Regions from separate parts of the Homo sapiens genome. Here region 2 is linked to region 1. The links are contacts of gene promoters, found by promoter capture Hi-C in blood cells and fetal thymus (Javierre and others, 2016). All regions are on one chromosome and are shown on one strand. The core of a region is centred on a gene start or on the middle of the fragment in contact, and the rest is flanking DNA. Distances in the headings are between cores, read along the strand shown.

Region 1 (5,287 bases), core at 1,065-3,564:
CCGCAAGGCCTGGAAAGGAAGTGCCCCCATCCCTCTCCTCCCCCCAGGCCTAGGCAAGTTTCTCTCCTCACAGAGACTATGAGGTCGAAACCACAGAAGAGAGGACTCTTGTGTCTGCGGCTGGGTGGGAGGAAGGGCCCAGCGCCAGACAGGCCATGGGGAGGAGAGGGCTGTCCTGGAGCTGGTGCAGGACTCTGGAGGCCTGGTAGGAGGGACCCAGCTGCATGAGGCCTGCACCACCCCAGCTTTCCCTCCACATTGGCCTGGAGAAAAAAGCAACTATGTTGGGTCAAAGAACCCAGTCGGCTGGCTTTGTCTTTGCGAATGAGAGAGATGCAAGGTATCCCCTAGGAGAAAGTCAACGGAACACCTCCCACCTTGGCTTAGGGGTCCAGGGGAGGGTGGGGGGACCTCCAGCTCTGCAGTAGGCCCTGGATCCTAGCCTCTGGGGCTGCTCCTCCCTCCCTTCCTGGGCCCAGAAGCAAATGGTGGTTCTGGCACTGGGACCGCCCATGACCCAATTAAAACGGAGCCAGGGCAGCCGCCCCTCCCCTGGGGGACCCAGCAAAGCAGGGGAGGGAAAAAAGGTAAGGCAGTGAAGTTGGCGGTCGGCAGCTCCCCAGATGCTCAGGCTCGTTTTGTTAGGGGCGCTCCCTTTCAGGTCTCAGAGGACTCTAGGCCTGGGAAGAGGACGACTCCTCCCGGACAGTCAGGCTCAGCCTCCAGCACCAGGGCAGGTTTTTACTCTCCCTGGTCTCTGAGCACTCCACGTTTCGTCTTCCACCCCGATTCCTGGGGCCATACTTTTCCAGTCGGCCCCAGACCCTTTCAGGGACGCAGAGAGAAGACAGTATTCTTTCCAAAGAGTTTTCTCCGGGGTGGGACCAAGGAGGAGAAGCCAAACCCATATCCCATCCCCCTTCTAGGGCCCTTCCTGGCCCCTCCCAACCGCACCCAGGCCCTTGCCAGGCTGAGTGGGTTGAGATGGCCCAAAATAAGAAGCTCATTAAATCCGTCTCCCACCTTCACCCCAAAATAAGAGAGAGAGAGGAAAAACCTCCTCAGACAACTCCCACGCAGCTTCCTCTGGGGCCCGGTGGGCCACCGTCTGGGCCGGGGTGAGGGTGGGGGGCGCCCGAGCCAGCCCCGACGTGAGGGCACCCCGGACCAGACCCTCTCCCCATTCCCCAAGCGACGCCCCCAGGCTCCCTGCAATTAACACAGAAAAACTATTAACAACAAAAAGGGCCTGAAGGCGCCGACGCGGGTGGGGATAGGGGGAGGCAGCGACCCGGCCGATCGCCCGGCTCACAAGGAGAGCTTTGTGTGTACGGAAACGCGGCCAGCGCGCCGGCGCTGCGACCCTCGACGCCAGGGATGCGGGTAGGGACACAGCGGGGTCCTCTCGGGGAGACGGGGGCTGTGGCCCTGGACGCTCGGCCGTCCACCCTCGACCCCCACCTGGCCGCAGACTCGTCCGCTGAAGGCCTGGGCCACCCGGGGAGGCCGAAGCGCCCATCGGAGGGCGCGCCGGCGGGAGAGCGCTGGAGAGCTGGGAAGTCGAAGAAACAACAAACTCTCGCGCATGACGAGGAGCCGGGACAGCGCGGGGTTTGAGCGGAGTCCAAATGTTTATCAGGCGGTTCCAGAGCTGAGAGCAGAGCCCAAGGGAATCGGGGAAGGGGGAGTTCGCCCCAGTTGTAAAGTTCTTCCAAGGACTGGGAAAAAAGAAGGAATGGGAAGGAGAGTCGGCGGCGCAGGGGGTGGGGGCAGCTGGTTGGAAGCGGGCAAAAGTTGGATCGATCTGGAAGTTTGGAGACGAAGAGGAAAAAGAAAGGGAGGGGGAATCCTGCAGGCCTGAGCAGCGGAGATCCCAAAAGCCCTCCTCTCCGAATAGAGGCTGTCCCCTAGGAGACCCCCGGGCTCGCCTCCCGGCGGGCGCGACTCCGGGAAGGGCCGGGAAGCTCACTTACTTCGGGGCTGAAGCTGCTGCTTTGGGCCGAGCCGAGGGAGGCGAGCGCGGTGCCGAGCGTGAGCAGGGGGAGCAGGAGACAACGGGGGGGTCTTGGGGCGGGAGACATGGTCCGAGACCACCGGGTCAGCCGGGCAGTGTGGGCTCCGCGGCCGGGCCCACGCCCTGGGGTCGCACCGCCACTCCCTCGGGGCGCCTTTGTCTTCGGTAGGCACTGAACTTGAATTCCTAGACCGCTGTCGGCTTGGAGTTAAAGGGGATTGTTCCTCAAAGTGCCTGTTTGCTCTTCTCCTCTTTTCCGGTTTTTGATCTTTCTTCTGCTTAGTCGGCGAACTGGGGTCTGGTTCCCTCTCTCGCTCTCTCCTCTGGTCCCTCCCTTCTCCCACAGCCTCTCCTCCGTCCCCGCCCCAGTGCCCTCCTTTCCTGGTTGGGGACGTGGTTGTTTTAGCCTGAATCCAATTACAACCAAGAACTGGAAGGAAAAAAAAAAAAAACACCTCTAAGTTGCCTTTTTGTGGTGCAGGCTGCCATCTGCAGGGGTTGAGGCCGCGATGGACAGCAGGGGGCTGTAGGGGGATCCAGGGGACGGGATGTGGGAGACTTTGTCCCTATAAGCATATTCTGAGTGGCTTGATTCCTCTGGTATTCAGCATTTGTCTCACCTCAGGGTGGGAATTATTGGGGGCTATGTGGCTAGGGGCAACGAGGAGCTCAGAGTGTGGGATGGTGGTGGGGTCTTCTTCCATGCCCATGAGACCTGCAGAGGGAGAAGGGGCCAGTTTACTAATAGGGGGTTATCTTCTGGGCCCTGTAGACAACTGTCTATGTCCCTCCCTCTGCTGCTAAAAAATCCAAACTATAACCCAACTACCAACAACAAACCCCACAACCATACCGGATCTGTGGCTCCAACCTTTGTAGAAAGACAAAGGTGATTCCTTTATTGTCATTTGTAATGTGGCTGCACCTTTAATTGGAACTCGCTGGGAGGAAAAGGGTACAAGGCCGTGGGATCTGGGGGAAAGCAAATCAAGTTGGGTGAAATTATTGTAAAAGAAGGGATTGGGAGTTGGGACTCTGGGGTTTAGTTCCACCTCTACACTGAAAAAGGAGGCAATTCTTAAAGAGTTATAATCTCCTTTAGGGACTTACTGGACTCAGAACAAAAGGTGGAGGTATGTAGGGAAGGGAGAGGGCAGGATAAAGCTGACCGTGAGAAAGGGAGACAGATGAGTTGGGAACTAGACAGGTCTGGAAAAGAAGCACAACAGAAGCAGGAAAAGTGTGGGAGACAGAAAACTAGACTATCAGCGAAATCTAAGATCCAAGAATTGCATTTGGCCAGTGAGAGAGGACAGAGGTAGTGCGAGGAGGAAGGGAGAAGAAAGCAAAGGAAGGAATAGAGGAGGGTGGACAGAAATTAGGTCAGGTAGGAAGCTCCAGAAATCCTAGGGATGCACTTCTGTGGCAGAAGAATAGAAGTCTAGTGCTCAGTATTGTAATGAAAACAAAGGTCTTTTGCCCTCAGATTCATGATCAATAAAATGAAAAGCTTTTCAGGTCCTGTGGAGCCTCCAGGTTTGTGGGAGGTATATGGTGTGTGTTATTAAACAGCTACCTACCCCACAGTGACTGAGGGCTGAGCCCTTATGTAGGGCTTTCCTACACAAGCTGGGGTTGGGAGGTACAGGCCCCTCTTCAACCAATCTCTGGAATGCATTCAGAACCATGGAGACCTCAGGACCCCACTCTCGGCAGAACACGCAACACCCAGGTATGATTCTTCCCACATCAGCCTTCCCAGTGGGGGTAACCTCCTGGACCACATATCTGAATCTTAGGAAGACTGACACCAGATGCTTGCCAAAAAAGGGACCTTGGCTAGAAAATCTTTTTCATGAAAACATTTATTAGATGCCAGCTGTACATGGCCTAAACTGTGCATGAGCTGTTAAAGGCTTGACTGCCTGGCCAAAACTGGGAAAACTGCTGTCCCCTTTTCACGTTCACAGAACAGCTATTTCTCATAGTTGGGCTAGTCCTATGGCCTGCAAAGGAGGTAAATTTTTTTTTTTTTTTGAGACGGAGTCTCGCCCTGTCGCCCAGGTTGGAGTGCAATGGTGTGACCTTGGCTCACTGCAACCTCTACCTCCCGAGTTTAAGCGATTCTCCTGCCTCAGCCTCCTGAGTAGCTGGGATTACAAGCGCACCCCACCACGCCCGGCTAATTGTTTGTATCTTTAGTAGGGACAGGGTTTCACCATGTTGACCAGGCTGGGTTGGCCAGGCTGGTCTCGAACTCCTGATCTTGTGATCTGCCCGCCTCAGCCTCCCAAAGTGCTGGGATTACAGGCGTGAGCCACCGCACCCAGCTAGGAGGTAAAAATTTTAAAGCAAGACTTAGCTGAACTGGAATGGAACCAGAGATGAGAGTACTAAGCCAAGCCTCCCAGGCAGTGATCTAACAGCTTGTTCTTGGTGTCCCAGCTCTTTTTCTCTGAAGACAGATGGGGAACGTGAAGGCTATCTTCTGGCTGGATGAAGCATCTAGGTGATAGAAAAGAAATCCAGAGACAGGGTGAGGAAGGGAGGCAGGAGTTGCTTTTTATTGACTTGGAAGTGGGCTCTTCAGTGAAGCCCCTTTGGGTTTAAGAGCATTTTCCTGCTTCCTTTGTTCTTCCTGCAACTTCTGCTGCCTGAGCTGCCATGCTTGTAATCCAGCGTCCATTTCCTGTGACAGCAGTACAACTCGTCTCTGAAACAGACAGGAAAACAGTGTGGATAACATCTGGGACTTCAGCGCTATACTATATATCCTTCCACTTACAAATTCAGAGGTTTCATCTGGAAAATGACGCTGCTGACTCCCCAGTGGGAGCGAGTTCTGGCTTGGGAAGCAGAGGGAGACAGCAAAATGTGCAGCAGGATGTCTACTACTGGTTCCTGTCCTGGGAGTGCCCCACTCTCTTCCTCCCTTCTCACAGTGCTATTAAAACCTTTGGCTGGGGCCAGGCATGGTGGCCCACACCTGTAATCCCAGCACTTTGGGAGGCTGAGGCAGGCGGATCACCTGAGGTGGGGAGTTCAAGACCAGTCTGACCAACATAGAAAAACCCTGTCTCTACTAAAAATACAAAGTTAGCTGGGTGTGGTGGCACACGTGTGTAATCCCAGCTACTCAGGAGGCTGAGGCTGGAGAATCGCTTGAACCCGGGAGTAGGTTGAAGTGAGCTGAGATAGCGCCATTGCACTCCAGCCTGGGCATCAAGAGCGAAACTCCGTCTCACAAAAAACAAAAACAAAAACAAAAAAAAC
Region 2 (5,287 bases), core at 797-3,296, 210 kb after region 1:
AGGCTGGAATGCAATGGCATGATCTCGGCTCACTGCAACCTCTGCATCCCGGGTTCAAGCGATTCTTCTACCTCAGTTTCCCAAGTAGCTGGGATTACAGGAACCTGCTACCACACCCGGCTAATTTTTGTATTTTTAGTAGAGACGAGGTTTCACCATGTTGGCCAGGCTGGTCTCGAACTCCTGACCTCAGGTGATCCACCCACCTTGGCCTCCCAAAGTGCTGGGATTACAGGCATGAGCCACTGGTTCCGGCTTCATTGGTCATTTGTACACTTTATCAGAGCCAAAAGGCCGAGAAGCGATCATTCATTGGTCATTTGCATATCTTCTTCTGTAAATTACTTATTCATATTTCTTGCCATGTACACAAAAATAAAACATTTATTTTTCTCTGGGTTGCTTTTCTTTTTCTGATCACTTGTTATAAACTATTCTCATTGCTTATCAAAAAGCTTTATTTTGCCGGGCGTGGTGGCTCATGCCTGTAATCCCAGCACTTTGGGAGGCCGAGGAGGGTGGATTGCCTGAGGTCAGGAGTTCGAGACCAGCGCCAACATGGCAAAACCCTGTCTCTACTAAAAATACAAAAAGATTAGCCATGCAGGGTCATGTGTGCCTGTAATCCCAGCTACTCAAGAGGCTGAGGCAAGATAATTGCGTGAACCTAGGAGGTGGAGATTGCACTGAGCCGAGAGCGCGCCACTGCACTCCAGCCTGGGTGACAGAGTGAGGCTCTGTCTCAAAATAAAAAAAAAAAGCTTCATTTTGCAAACCCTTCAATCCTGCAATCTTACCTCAAGGAAGGAAATAATTGGTCAAATATGCAAATATGTACGTACAAGGGACTTAGCGCACATTGTTTATAACATACAAATATTTGGAAGCAATTTAAAGTCCAAGAACAGAGAAGCAGGTAAATGAACTATAGTAAATCCAGACAGTGGAAGAAGATGCAACAGTTAAAAATGATGATATATTTCTATGGATTCTATATTTATTGGTATAGAAAGAGATTTATAACAATAAGGTTAAAAATTTTTATAAAGCACTTTGTTAGTATGCTCTCATTCTAGTAAATATACATTTATGTATATAATAACATATATATCATCTGAAAGAATATATTCCAATGTATTTAACATGGTTATTTGTGGGTAGTATAATTATAGATTTTTTAAAAAGTGTTTTTAATTTTGTCTTATTTTTGTACAATTAAAAATTTTTGTTTACATTTAAAAAAAGGAAAAATGTTCTCAGAATTGAACCCAACACTCAAATCAGGTTACAGTGAAACCATTGAGTCCCCCAATCAATGCAGGGAATGAGACCTAGCTTTCCATTAGCTTTTGGGGCAGCTTCATTCCTTTACTGCCATAAACAGAGCTTCTAGCCCACTAAAACCTTCACATCGGTTTAATCTTTTCACATCAACTGCCATTGCTTTACTAGTTTGGTTCATTTTTTTCTATCTTTTTTTTTTTTTTTTTTGGAGACATGGTCTGACTGTGTTGCCCAGGCTGTGGTGCAGTGGCACTCCATAGCTTCATAGCTCACTGCAGCCTTGAACTTCTGGGCTCAAGCAATCCTTCTGCCTCAGCCTCCCGAGTAGCTAGGACTACAGTCACATGCCACCATGCCCAGCTAATTAAATTTTTTATTTTTATTTTTACTTTTAGCTATGGAGTCTTGCCATATTGCCCAGGCTGGTCTTGAACTCCTGGGCTCAAGCGATCCTCCTGCCTCAGTCCCCTAAAGTGCTGGGATTACAGGCGTGAGCCACCACACTCGGCCGAGGTTCATTTTTCTCATGTGAAAGACTTGACATTCATCTCTGCCCACACTTTGATCATATCAGAAAACAACCTGTGCAGCCGCTTTCTGATTGCTGAAGCCGCTTCATTCTTCCTCAGCAGGACCCTTTGAGATACAATTGAAACTTCATGTTTGAGAATGCCCTGTCCCTTTTAAGCACTATAGATAATTTTCCTTGGAACATTCTGAAATCTGACTTCCTGAAATCTATAAAAATTACATCTGACAATCTTTTTTCAATATTCTAGTAAACGCAATTGTGAGTAGAGCAAGAATTTACTAGGTGCTCTGCTTCTGGCAGAAAGAGACTCATGTTAGTGTCCTGATTCTTGGAGACCTCTGGCACTACTGTAACTTGCTTTTGATGTTTGGCAGTCTGAACTAAGAAAGCAGCATCTGTGTCCTCCAATTATCTTAGTATCTATTTCTGTTTGTTTCTCCTTTTATCCCCATCCAAACATTTCCACCTTCAGTTCTGTGGTTTCCTTTTTGGCATACATGCTATTGTTGAGTCCCTTCAATTAGATTCACTTCCTCTGAACAGCGTTATCTTTCCACGGTCCCCTCCAGTCATGGGATCCACATGATTGACTTATCTATCTTCTTGTCATAAAATTCAAGTTCCTCTCCCACTCTGGTCTTCTGTAATATAGCCAGCACTCCCCAGACTTTAGGATTTTAATAATATTAATTACAAATACAGGAAAAAATTCTAAAATTGATATGTTTGGAAACAAAAAATGACATTCCCTCTCACCCCCAAACAATCGTAGAATATCAGCATCTTTTTATAAAATAACAATAGTTTAATCCTGAAAGGGTTAGAAAGGATATAATTTCAGAATTTAAAAATACTAAAAAAAAAAAGGCACTATTTTGTTATGAACCAGAAATACTTTATCATGGACCAGCTCCAGTCTGTGGATCTATGTAGGAAGCCACTGCTATAATATATGGTTTTGCAGTTACATTTGGACACTTTCCTTGAACATTTTAGAAAGTACATGATGCCCAGTTTTTGTGTTAGTTACCTCATAATTTATCAGAGGCCCATAAATCTATCATAAGTTGTGAGCCCTCTCAAAAATTCTTTTCCCAGACACAACACATGGTGTCAGCTGGTCAAACTGAGAAGATGAAAATATCACCTCTAACGCCATATCCTTCAGGATCCTTTTCAGCCACTAGCATGTCTCAGGATTCTTCTGGTTGTGTGTGATTTGTTCTCATATTGTTATAGTTTGGATATCTGACTCTTCAAATCTCATGTTGAAATTTGATCCCCAATGTTGAGATGGGGCCTAATGGGAGGTGTCTGGGTCATGGGGCAGATTCCTCATGAATGGCTTGGTGCTGTCTGTGTGGTTATGAGTGAGTTCTTGTTCTAGCAGTGCCTGGGAGAGATTGTTAAAACAAGCCTGGCACCTCACTTGTTTCTCTCTGGCCTGCGCTGCCTTGTCATGTGATCTCTGCACACTCCAGCTCCCCTTACCCTTCCAGCATGAGTGGAAGCTTCCTGAGGCCCTCACCAGAAGCAGATGCTGATGCCATGCTTCTTGTACAGCCTGCAGAACTGACAGGTTTTCTTTTCTTTATAAATTACCTGGCCTCAGGTATTCCTTTATAGCAGAAGAAACAGACTAAGACACATATATACCAACTAAAATATGTGGTTGCTGAATTATCACAAACTCTCCATTAGGCCTCAGAATATTCCAGGAAGAAGGAGCATCAGCCATCAGTAAGGTGAAGTCTACAGATCTCCTAGGCCTTTAGCAGAGTCACCAACCAAGATAATGGGGTCCTTGTGGGTTGGGGAACAGACTCTGTGCACCTGCTGACATCTGTTAATCCTCCTTAGTATTCTCTCCAGGAATGAGGAAGGTCTTTCCTCCTTAACCCTAGTGAAGAGTGATATTTAGCAGGATGATGACAAAGATCTGTCTAGCATAACAATGCTGAACTTATACTATGAAAAACACTTGGGGTGGAGCCAAGATGGCCGAATATGAACAGCTCCAGTCTACAGCTCCCAGCGTGAGAGACGCAGAAGACGGGTGATTTCCGCATTTCCAACTGAGGTACCAGGTTCATCTCACTGGGGAGTGTTGGATAGTGGGTGCAGGAGAGTGGGTGCAGCGTACCGAGCGTGAGCCGAAGCAGGGCAAGCCATCGCTTCACTTGGGAAGTGCAAGGGGTCAGGGAATTCCCTTTCCTAGTCAAAGAAAGAGGTGACAGACGGCACCTGGAAAATTGGGTCACTCCCACCCTAAAACTGTGCTTTTCCAATGGTCTTAGCAAACTGCACCCCAGGAGATTATATCCCGTGCCTGGCTTGGAGGGTCCTATGCCCACGGAGCCTCACTCATTGCTAGCACAGCAGTCTGAGATCAAACTGCAAGGTGGCAGTGAGGCTGGGGAAGGGGCGCCCGCCATTGCCAAGGCTTGAGTAGGTAAACAAAGTGGCCGGGAAGCTCGATCTGGGTGGAGCCCACCGCAGCTCAAGGAGGCCTGCCTGCCTCTGTAGACTCCACCTCTGAGGGCAAGGCATAGCCAAACAAAAGGCAGCAGAAATCTCTGCAGACTTAAATGTCCCTGTCTGACAGCTTTGAAGAGAGTAGTGGTTCTCCCAGCACGCAGCTAGAGATCTGAGAACAGACAGACTGCCTCTTCAAGTGGGTCCCTGACCCCTGAGTAGCCTAACTGGGAGGCACCCCCCAGTAGGGGCAGACTGACACCTCACACGGCCGGTTAATCCTCTGAGACAAAACTTCCAGAGGAACGATCAGGCAGCAACATTTGCTGTTCACCAATATGTTCTGCAGCCTCCTCTGCTGATACCCAGGCAAACAGGGTCTGGAGTGGACCTCCAGCATACTCCAACAGACATGCAGCTGAGGGTCCTGACTGTTAGAAGGAAAACTAACAAACAGAAAGGACATCCACACCAAAACCCCATCTGTACATCACCATCATCAAAGACCAAAGGTAGATAAAACCACAAAGATGGGAGAAAAACTGGAAACTTTAAAAATCAGAGTGCCTCTCCTCCTCCAAAGGAATGGAGCTCCTCACCAGCAACGGAACAAAGCTGGATGGAGAATGACTTTGACAATTTGAGAGAAGAAGGCTTCAGATGATCAAACTACTCCAAGCTAAAGGAGGAAGTTCAAATCCATCACAAAGAAGTTAAAAACCATGAAAAAAAATTAGACGAATTGCTAACTAGAATGACCAATGCAGAGAATTCCTTAAAGGACCTGATGGAGCTGAAAACCACAGCACGAGAACTACGTGACGAATGCACAAGCCTCAGTAGCCGATTCGATCAACTGGAAGAAAGGGTATCAGTGATGGAAGATGAAACGAATGAAATGATGCAAGAAGAGAAGTTTAGAGAAAAAAGAATAATAAAAAAAAAAAACGAACAAAGCCTCCAAGAAATATGGGACTATGTGAAAAGACCAAATCT

The links. The method cuts DNA at HindIII sites, captures the fragments that hold promoters and counts their contacts. A CHiCAGO score of 5 or more calls a contact.
Region 2: a contact is called between a fragment that was not itself captured here and the fragment with the promoter of MMP14 in region 1, in 5 of 17 cell types (naive B cells, neutrophils, erythroblasts and 2 more). The highest score is 7.3, in naive B cells.

The regions. Positions count from the first base shown.
Region 1 is chr14:22,833,612-22,838,898 of GRCh38, reverse strand. MMP14 (matrix metallopeptidase 14) reads right to left here and starts at 2,314. Exons shown (of 10, transcript NM_004995.4): 1 at 1,974-2,314. The coding sequence starts at 2,081. MRPL52 (mitochondrial ribosomal protein L52) reads right to left here. Exons shown (of 5, transcript NM_180982.3): 5 at 3,862-4,727. The coding sequence ends at 4,578. RefSeq lists a silencer at 2,440-2,656. The HindIII fragment of the contact is 13,873 bases long and covers 1-3,526 here.
Region 2 is chr14:22,620,276-22,625,562 of GRCh38, reverse strand. No RefSeq gene overlaps it. Among named protein-coding and RNA genes, the nearest start is that of OR6J1, 21 kb to the left of the region's middle. The HindIII fragment of the contact is 2,566 bases long and covers 764-3,329 here.